Linked DNA regions of Homo sapiens: regions 1 and 3 are each linked to region 2. Evidence: promoter capture Hi-C in 16 types of primary human blood cells and fetal thymus (Javierre and others, 2016). All regions are on one chromosome and are shown on one strand. The core of a region is centred on a gene start or on the middle of the fragment in contact, and the rest is flanking DNA. Distances in the headings are between cores, read along the strand shown.

Evidence for each region. The method cuts DNA at HindIII sites, captures the fragments that hold promoters and counts their contacts. A CHiCAGO score of 5 or more calls a contact.
Region 1: a fragment that was not itself captured here is called in contact with the fragment with the promoter of KDM8 in region 2 in 1 of 17 cell types (monocytes); the score reaches 5.2 in monocytes.
Region 3: a contact is called between a fragment that was not itself captured here and the fragment with the promoter of KDM8 in region 2, in 2 of 17 cell types (activated CD4 T cells and total CD8 T cells). The highest score is 5.3, in activated CD4 T cells.

The regions. Positions count from the first base shown.
Region 1 is chr16:27,556,364-27,559,458 of GRCh38, reverse strand. The region is part of intron 1 of KATNIP (katanin interacting protein); the gene reads right to left. Among named protein-coding and RNA genes, the nearest start is that of KATNIP, 7.8 kb to the right of the region's middle. The HindIII fragment of the contact is 5,731 bases long and covers 1-3,095 here.
Region 2 is chr16:27,201,646-27,204,929 of GRCh38, reverse strand. It overlaps KDM8 (lysine demethylase 8), which reads right to left and starts at 1,404. Exons shown (of 8, transcript NM_024773.3): 1 at 1,294-1,404. RefSeq lists an enhancer at 1,200-1,359. The HindIII fragment of the contact is 9,655 bases long and covers 512-3,284 here.
Region 3 is chr16:27,484,561-27,487,470 of GRCh38, reverse strand. It overlaps GTF3C1 (general transcription factor IIIC subunit 1), which reads left to right. Exons shown (of 37, transcript NM_001520.4): 24 at 1,317-1,474. Among named protein-coding and RNA genes, the nearest start is that of IL21R-AS1, 33 kb to the right of the region's middle. The HindIII fragment of the contact is 9,490 bases long and covers 1-2,910 here.

The DNA.
Region 1 (3,095 bases), core at 113-2,612, 350 kb before region 2:
CCTCCTGCCTCAGCCTCCCAAAGTGCTAGGACTACAGGCATGAGCCACCATGCCTGGCCTGAAATCACTATTTTTGAATATGGAAAAACATATTGATAGACACTGTACAGCGCAGTGTAAAACCTCTGGGTGTGAGAGCAGGTAGGCAAGTGTCTAAAAAGATGAGACTGGAGGGGAGCTAATTCCCCAGAGAAATTCTATACTTCAAGGTGATATGATCCATAGGGCAATTGTTAAAGCTGCAAAGCCCCATGGGACATCAGTAGTCACACTTTCTTACTTTTACATAAAGTGCTCTGCAAACAGTTTCAAGTTCTTCCTTGCAACCAACCACATTGCTCTGCATTAGCCTACTCCCATTTGGAAAGAGAGAAGCAGTCATGGGACCAGATGCTGAGGGAGCTGGGAATGTAGTCAAAACGGGTACCTTTCAAAATGTATATTATTCCATCAGCCCAGTGGCCAGTTCTTCCCCACAGACTCACTCTCCAGGTGTGAGAACCTGGCCACACACTGGCAGTAACAAGGCTGAAATGGGCCTTCCATAACATACTACCAAGTGTAGACCTTATTCGACTGAGTCCTGGCTCTGCTACCTACTAGGTGTGTGGTATAAAACAGACACAATCACAGTATCCCATTGAGCTGTCTCAGGAATCAAATCAGATCTGCCACGGCAACAGTCAGCAAACGTTTCCTGTACAGGCCCAGATAGTAAATATTTTTGGCCCGTGGGCCACATAAGTCTCTTTTACAACTACTCAACTCTGCAAGAAAACAGCCATGGACTATATGTATGTGAAAGGGTGCTGCTGCATTCCAATAAAACTTTATTTACAATAGCAGGCAGTGGGCCACACTGCTTTGGGAAAGGGGAAGACCTCTACAAATATTATCTTCTAAGGACTCCCATGTTGAAATGTAGTCATCTGTTTATGTCTGCTTTCTCACCATACTATGAAGTTTCTAAAGGCAGATAATATATTCCCTTTTTTTCAGATTAAAACAAAAAGAAACTGGGCATGGTGACTCATGCCTGTAATCCCAGCATTTTGGGAGGCCAAGGCAGGCAGATCACTTGAGGTCAGGAGTTCGAAACCAGCCTGGCCAACATATGAAACCCCATCCCTACTAAAAATACAAAAATTAGCCAGGTGTGGTGGCACACACCTGTAATCCCAGCTACTTAGGAGGCTGAGGCAGGAGAATCACTGGAACCCAGGAGGCAGAGGCTGTAGTGAGCTGAGATCGCACCACTGCACTCCAGCCTGGGTGAGAGAACAAGACTCTATCTAAAAACAAAAAAACAAACAAAAAGAATAAGTATAGTCCAGTATGGCATACAAGGAAGTCCACAGGAGTTTTCACAACTGTACAAGTTAATACTAAAGTAGAATTCTAAGTACAAATGCTGACAGGCCTAGGAGTGACAGACACAATGAGAGAAGCCAGTCATTAGACAGGCCCACCTCCCTCTTAAAGGGCAAAGTCTCCACTTAACTCGGGTGGTGGGACAATTGTTGCCATGCAGAATTCTGATTTGGTGTTAACAGACTTTATTGATATTTTCAAGAAAATACCACAATCAGGTATTTATAAGAAATCTGCTCATTTTTCAATGTTGACAACTAATTCAAAAATTTAAAAAACAAAACATTATGAGCCAAATAAACATGCATGTGGGCTGTTTCAGCCCACTTGTGCAAGCTCTGATATAAAGAATTCATTTCCAGCCAGGCATAGTGGCTCATGCCTGTAATCTTAGCAACTTGGGAGGCCAAGGTGGGAGGATCACTTGAGCTCAGGAGATGGAGACCAGCCTGGACAACATAGCAAGACCCCCATCTCCACAAAAAATAAAAAATTAGCTGGGCATGGTGGCACACACCTGTAGTCCCAGCTACTTGGACAGCTGACATGGGACGATCGCTTGAGCCAGGAGATGGACGCACCAGTGAGTTATCTCACCATTGCACTCCAGCCTGGGCAACAGAGCAAGACTCTGTCTCAAAAAAAAAAAAAAAAAAATCCACACCTGTAACCGTAGCACTTTAGGAGGCCAAGGGGTAGGGTTGGATCACCTAAGGTCAGGAGTTCGAGACCAGCCTGGGCAACATGGTGAAACCCCGTCTGTACTAAAAATGCAAAAATTAGTTGGGCGTGGTGGCATGTGCCTGTAATCCCAGCTACCCAGGAGGCTGAGGCAGCAGAATCACTGGAACTCGGGAGGCGGAGGATGCAGTAAGCCAAGATCGCGCCACTGTACTCCAGCCTGGGCTACAAAGTGAGACTCCACCTCAAAAAAAAAAAAAAAAATCAACTTCACAGAAAAATGTCAAGAATAGTACAATGAATTCCCATATCGCCTTCACCTGGATTCAATCTTACTCATTTTGGCATCTCTGAATTCCAATGCACGGAAGGCACTGAAATGTTGAATCATGGAATGAATCTCATAAGGAAAAATAAGCAAAACATTATGGGCCGACTTCCTATAAGTTAAAGTGACAGGAGGAACGAACTCTGAAAAAATCTGAGAGAAAAGAAACTAATCAGATAGAAGGATTGGAACAAGAAGAAAACAGAACAGACACAAAGAGTCTATGGGATGTATGTTTATTTCACCTGCTGAATGCTTGCTTTGTTTTATTGCATTTGATTGTTATTTTATTATTTTTTTTGCTGGGTTTAAGTAGTAAGAGAAACAGACAAATCACCAAGAAGCCAGGTAAATACCACACAAGGACAGGAGAGACCAGCTAAACCGATGGTGTACTCTCAGCAAAACCTTCCTAATTCAACCATCACCTGTTTGCAGTCTGGGATTATTTGGACAAGTGAGGCTAAATATCATCTTGGCATTATTAATTATTTGAGAAAGTTTGCTAAGCAAATGAACAGTATAAACAAGGGAAATGTTGAATATTTGCTCTAGGGGAGCAGTGAAAAGCAAATGAACAACTTCCAAATCCTTTCTAATTATATCAATGTGCTGAACTTTTGTCTAATTATTATGTTCCTTGAAAATGAAATAGAATTTTTTTTCCTAAACCATTTCATATTTTTAAAGTACTGGGGAAAATTCAACTTTAACA
Region 2 (3,284 bases), core at 155-2,654:
CTCAGCCGCCCAAGCAGCTGTGATTACAGATGTGCACCACCACACTCAGCTAATTTTTTATTTTTAGTAGAGACGGGGTTGCGCCATGTTGGTCAGGCTGGTCTTGTGAACTCCTGACCTGAAGTGATCGGCCTGTCTCGGCCTCCCAAAGGGCTGGGATTACAGGTGTGAGGCACCGCGCCCAGCCTTAAATTATTTTTAAACATCAACTCCTCTAAAGCACCTCCCTGAGTATTCTTTAAGGTGGCTGGGTGGAATGGCCTCTCCGAGAGCCTCACTGTGATTTGCAGAGGGTCTCAGGGTGGGCACTCTGCAAGCACCATGCTGGTCATGAGAAAGCCTCCCAAAAGGGGCTTCCAGGACAGATCAGCCTACACCTAGCTTTCTGGGAACAGGCGGTCCAGTTCTCTAATCTCCTCAATGTTATTATGGCAGTATTCCACAAAAATTGTGCAAAAACAAGAGCTTCGTAAAACTTCCCAGGAAAGTTTGGAACATTTTCCAGAAAGCTTTAATTCATGGCACAGGGATCCCTTTGGCTCTCTAAGGGGCACACAGTCTTGTGTTTGGGTCGTCCGTGTGGCCCCAACGCCTGCGCACCTCCTGTCCCCGGGCTTGCTCCCGAGTCCTCCTGAGCACGGCGATTCCTACCGTTGCCGGGAAACGCACCGATGCCCATCGTTAAGTCCTACCGAGCTACAAGCACCTTTCCTTAGGGCAGTCACACACCCAGGCCCCAGAGGGTCCCCCGTACCCCGCACTGGCCTTGAGCCCCGAGGCCTCAGACCCCCTTCCCTCCTCAGCGCCTTCCCCGGGGCTGCATTTCTCGCGGCTCATATTTGGGACCTGACGGCGGAATCGTTTCCAGCCTGCCTTGCGGCCCAGGGGCAGCGGCTGGTTGCCTAAAAGCAGCGGACACACATATAGCAGAGTATAAAACCCGCGCAGGCGCACTAGGCCTACACCAACGCGACGCCAAGAACCGCTAAAGCGCACAGCAGCCCGCCGTAAGGGCCTGCCCTCACGCATGCGCAAAACCACTGCCAAGAGACGAGCATACGCACGCGCGGAACCTTTCCCTTTATCCTCCCGCAGGGCAGGCCGGCGACGAGCTAAATTGCATTCTCAGAGCGCATGCGGCAACTCGAGCCACCCTCGGGGTTTTCCAAGGCGCACGCGCGAGGCCGGGCTTGGCTGCTTCACATGACGCCTGCGCGGTCTATGCCTCTGAACCCGGCCTCTCCACTTCTGAGGAACTGGAGCTGACTCCGCTCTCGAGTTGCTCAGACTAACCTCTCTTCAGCTGGGACGGTGTCGAGTCGCCTTTGGGCTGGCGAAGACTCGTTGCGTTTGGTCCGACCACTCGGCTGTGTCCCCTGAGGAGCCAGAGGCTAGCATAGGAGTATCGATCGCTCACCGCTCGTCTGATCACGACGCAGTGCCTGGAGGAGCGCCGAGTGATCGATGCCGTGGCCCCGCCCCACTGCTGTTTAAAAGGCCGGGGGATGGAGAAGACAGAAAGGCTTGGCTGTATCCTCTGGGTCCTTCCACGCTAGTGATACCGCTTTTTCCTCTGCACAGATAACAACTTCGTACAAGGCTGTTTGCATCCACCATTTAATCTCTGCAGCTAGGATTATTAGTTCTCCCTATTTTACAGAGAGCGAAACTGAGGCTCAGTGATTAAAGTGGCCACATACTTGTACTTTTGGAAAGTCAGATCCACAATTACCCACGAGCAAGTGCTGCATCCACAGTCTGTTCGAGTGAGAAGGCAAGTGGCCAGGGGACACACTCCTGCCACCTTTGCTTTGATGCCGAGTGGTGCGTGGTCACTGGGACTTTTGTGTTTTGAGCACACACTCCTGTGGACTCCAAGTATGCACGCCTTTTGCAGCATTGCACAGAGGCATGGAAAGTTATGTTCGTACTGAGCTTGGGGTCTGAGTAGGAAACAGGCTTGCTCAGGATCAGTTCATAGATTAGTGGATTCTAGGTACGGTGCTAAAATACTTTAAAAATATGAGGATCGTAGCTATTGTAATGATCATGCTCATCCCCATTTTAGGGAGTGTATTAGTCCGCTTTCATGCTGCTGATAAAGACATACCCGAGACTGGGCAATTTACAAACAAAAAGGTTTAATGGATTCACAGTTCCACATGGCTGGGGAGGCCTCAAAATCATGGTGGAAGGTGAAAGGCACGTTTTACATGGTGGAAGACGAGATAATGAGAACCAAGTGAAAAGGGAAACCGCTTATAAAACCATCAGATCTCATGAGTCATATTCACTACCAGGAGAACAGTATGAGGGGAACCTCCCCTATCATTCAGTTATCTCCTACTGGGCCCTTCCGCAACACGGAATTATGGGAGCTACAATTCAAGATGAGATTTGGGTGGGGACACAGCCAAACCATATCAGGGAGGGAGCAAGTAAAGCACAGAAAGATCTCCTAACCCACCAGGCTCACTGGGATGCTGGTGTTTGAACTCAGCAGCCACAGGTTTAGAATCCTCATGGTTATGTGCTACACTAAGTTTCCACCCTTGAGTAGTGACAATGTTGAATTTTCCCTGAGTCTTGTGTCCCCGGAAAAAAGTAAAAAGGAATTGCTCTCACCCTTTTGTGTTGTGGAAAAAAGTTTACTGCAAAGAATCACCCCCCACCCCCACAAGAGAATTTAGATAAGACTCCAAGACACCACCCCCATTGTTTACCTGTGAGAGCAGGTAAACAGGACACAGACCCTCCAATTCTCATTCATTGTCTTATAAGTGATTACCTGAACTGCTTGTCCCACTAATCAATCCTTATAAAACGCTGGTCAACCACTTTGGTTAAGATTCTTTCCTTCCTCCAGGCCCCTGAACTTTGGCTCACCCTGGGCCTGGGCCAGCAGACAGCCCCTCCTCAGAATAGGCTGGCCTCAGGTTGATATATTCTCTGATCTACTAACCCATCATGTCACCCTTTCACCCCACTTCCAGGTTCTTTCTAGCCTTGTTTTCTTCTTCCTATGAAAGAAAAGCTCTTTTTGGCCTAACCCTTGTGGCCACAGTGTACTCTCTTTTGCAAGTCTCCCTTCCCCTGTTATAATAGTCCCTCCTGGCCAGGCGTGGTGGCTCACACCTGTAATCCCAGCACTTTGGGAGGCCGAGGCGGGCGGATCACGAGGTCAGGAGATTGAGACCATCCTGGCTAACACAGTGAAACCCCGTCTCTACTAAAAATACAAAAAATTACCCGGGTGTGGTCACGGGCACCTGTAGTCCCAGCTA
Region 3 (2,910 bases), core at 323-2,822, 280 kb before region 2:
CTTTTAGACTGCCATTTTGAGTTCTTCATCCGGCCAGTATTTATAGCAGAGGGAGTGGAAAGGAGACCAGTGTCTAGTTTTTAGACCACTTTCATATTGCCTAAGTGGTCCACAAGTTTTAACAGCAGCCACTGACGGCTGGTAGCTATTTCAGTTAAAGACAGAATGTTTAAACAGGAACCTGTTTTTAGTGGTTTATTTGGCTGGCGTTCATAACAAATAGCATTCCATCAGTTGAAATGGCCCCCTCAGTTTCGCCTGTCGTAGATATGTGTAAGACCAATTTGGCTTAAAAACCTGAATTCATCACAATGCAAAATGTGGTGGTGTCACTTCGAGTCCAAATTTCCTTTCCCCACTTTTCTTCTGCCTTAATTTGGAAGACACTCGCTAAACAGTCTTTTGAGATTGGCAGTGGCATATGGTGTCTGTCCTGTGAAGGTGCTATCAGTACCTCCCCTGGGCAGGAGACCTTGGCAGCCCTGTGGCTACGCTCTCAAGGTTCAGATCCTCCCTCTGTTGCTGACTCAGCTGTGTGACTTCAGCAAGTCACTGTATGTCTCTGTGTTCCTCAACAAAAAACAGTGATAACAATTGTATCCATTTCATAAGGTTGCTATAAAGTAGTATTCTAATTATAAGATAATATGTTGAAAAAGCATAAACCAGTGCTAGGCACACAATGAATATTCCCTGATGCTAGACTGCTGTTTTGGTGGTGGTGGTGCTGTTTAGTTATTAACTACACCGATCTCACTGCTGATGTTAGTTATTTAGTAGCCACCACTGTGTGCTGGATGTTTTATATGCAGTCTCCTTCCACCCTCTCCATGGCCCTGGAGCAGAGGCCTTATTGTCCCCAGATGCACTCAAGTCTACACAACGCCCGTGTGGTCACAGAGCAAGGGAGCGTGGGGGCCTGGTGACTGCACAGTCCCTGGTCCTGCTCACTCGGTGGGTACGCCCCGAGCACGCACTGTAGGCTTCTGTACAAGATGCCTTCAAAGGACTCTGTCACAGTGGGGGAGATTGGAGATTGGCAGATAACCAACTAGAGGCTGCATTGAGCCTTCCAACCTGTTGCTGTGAAATTTGATCAAGATAAATGATGAAAGGGATTTAAAAAAAAATAAAATCTATCAGAAGGGGCTGGGTCTTTTGCAGTTAGTTTATGTGACTTTAGATACAATGAGTATCTGCTAACCAATACCATTAGTCACATCTCACTGGCTGGGTAGGGAACCTGCCCCTCTGCAGAGTGACAGCTCCAAACCAGGTGTTAGAGGTCTCCTGCCTTCTCCCTCTGGTGTTTTTAGGAGAGTTCCCAGGAGAAAAAAGCAAAAGGCTGCGCTACCATGATGAAGCCGACCAGAGTGCCCTGCAGCGGATGACGCGGCTTCGTGTCACCTGGTCTATGCAGGAGGATGGGCTGCTTGTGCTGTGCCGCATTGCCAGCAATGTCCTCAACACCAAGGTACCAACCAGCCCAGCCCAGCGGTGGGCCTGCCCCTCACTCGGAGCTCCTTCCTGTCTGAGCCTTCCGGGGACTCCCAGCCAGAGACCACTCCTCTCAGCTGCTCTGCTTCGCCACTGGGAAAAGCATTGCCCAGAATCCTACACATTTTCTTTTTTAGAAAGATGGAGCCTTGCTCTTTCACCCAGTCTGGAGTGCAGTGGCACGATCACAGCTCACTGCATCCTCAACCTGGCCTCAAGTGATCCCACCTCAGCCTCTCATAGTCCTGGGACTACAGGCGCACCCTGCCATGACCAGCTAATCCTACAAATTAATACCATTCTGTTTTTCTACATTTCTTTTTAGCTTTCAGCTGCATACATATAAATGTTTGCCTAGCTGCAGGCAAACTAGTTCAGAGCTGTTCTTTCTCTCTCCTCACCAGTAGTCTAACCCTGGCCTGCTCCTTCCTCCCACCTTCATTGCCTGAAAAGCTCCAATTTACCTTCCTGTAACTGCCCATCATGTCCGGAATGATCTGCCAATTGGGCGTAATTACCCTGCTCATTCTCTGTTCTTGGCCGGATACTTCTCATGCTGTTTCTGTCACCTCTGGTACCTCTTGGCTCACCGGCGTGGCTGGTCCACAAGGCAGCGAGACCTCTTATTTGCCTTCCAGGAAAAAGCTCTGCCAGTCCAGTCCAGGGCCCCTTCCAGGCAGTAGTGCCACAAGGCAGCTTTGGAGGAGCCCGGGTGTGCCTCCGGGTCTCAGCCAGGCCAGGCAGGAGAAACCCAGCTGGGGCTTTGTGCCCAGATGCTCCTTGCCTGCCAACTATTAGATCCCTTGTCTTGACCGCTTGTCCCCTGTTCTCTCATCCCTCAGTCCTCTCCTGAATTCCATCCCAACCTCTTTTCCAAGGAAGAACCTGAAAGGTGACATGTTGCCATCCCTAATTTCTGTTCCCTGCATCTGCAATGGCTTCGTCATTGCAGAGCTGATGGGTAAGTGGGGCGTCCCTCCATCTGCTCCAGCTCTGGTGCAGCTGGAGGAGGCAGGAGGGTCCTGCATAGGTCAGTGTTGATGGACTCTCGCCGCTTACCAGAACTTACAGACTTTTTGGGTCACCTCATCCTTGGGGATGTAAGAAAATAACTCGTCAAGCGGCTTTCTCATGTCGGCCTTGCCTTCCTGTGTTATTGACCAAGATGTTCTCCTGGGTCTGCTAATTTTGTACATTCTGCTTCTACTAACATAACATACAAGCACAACATACAGAACGTTTCTGAGCACACATGATGCATAATTAGGACACTAAGACCTCTAACTAAACACACTTTGCATCCCCATGATTCCCTCTAATACAGCGCCCTTTCAGGCAGTTCCCCCCCGCCCCGTTGGGCACCTTTGTCACACATGGCGCTTGCTAAAATACACTCTTTCCCGCTGGTCACTG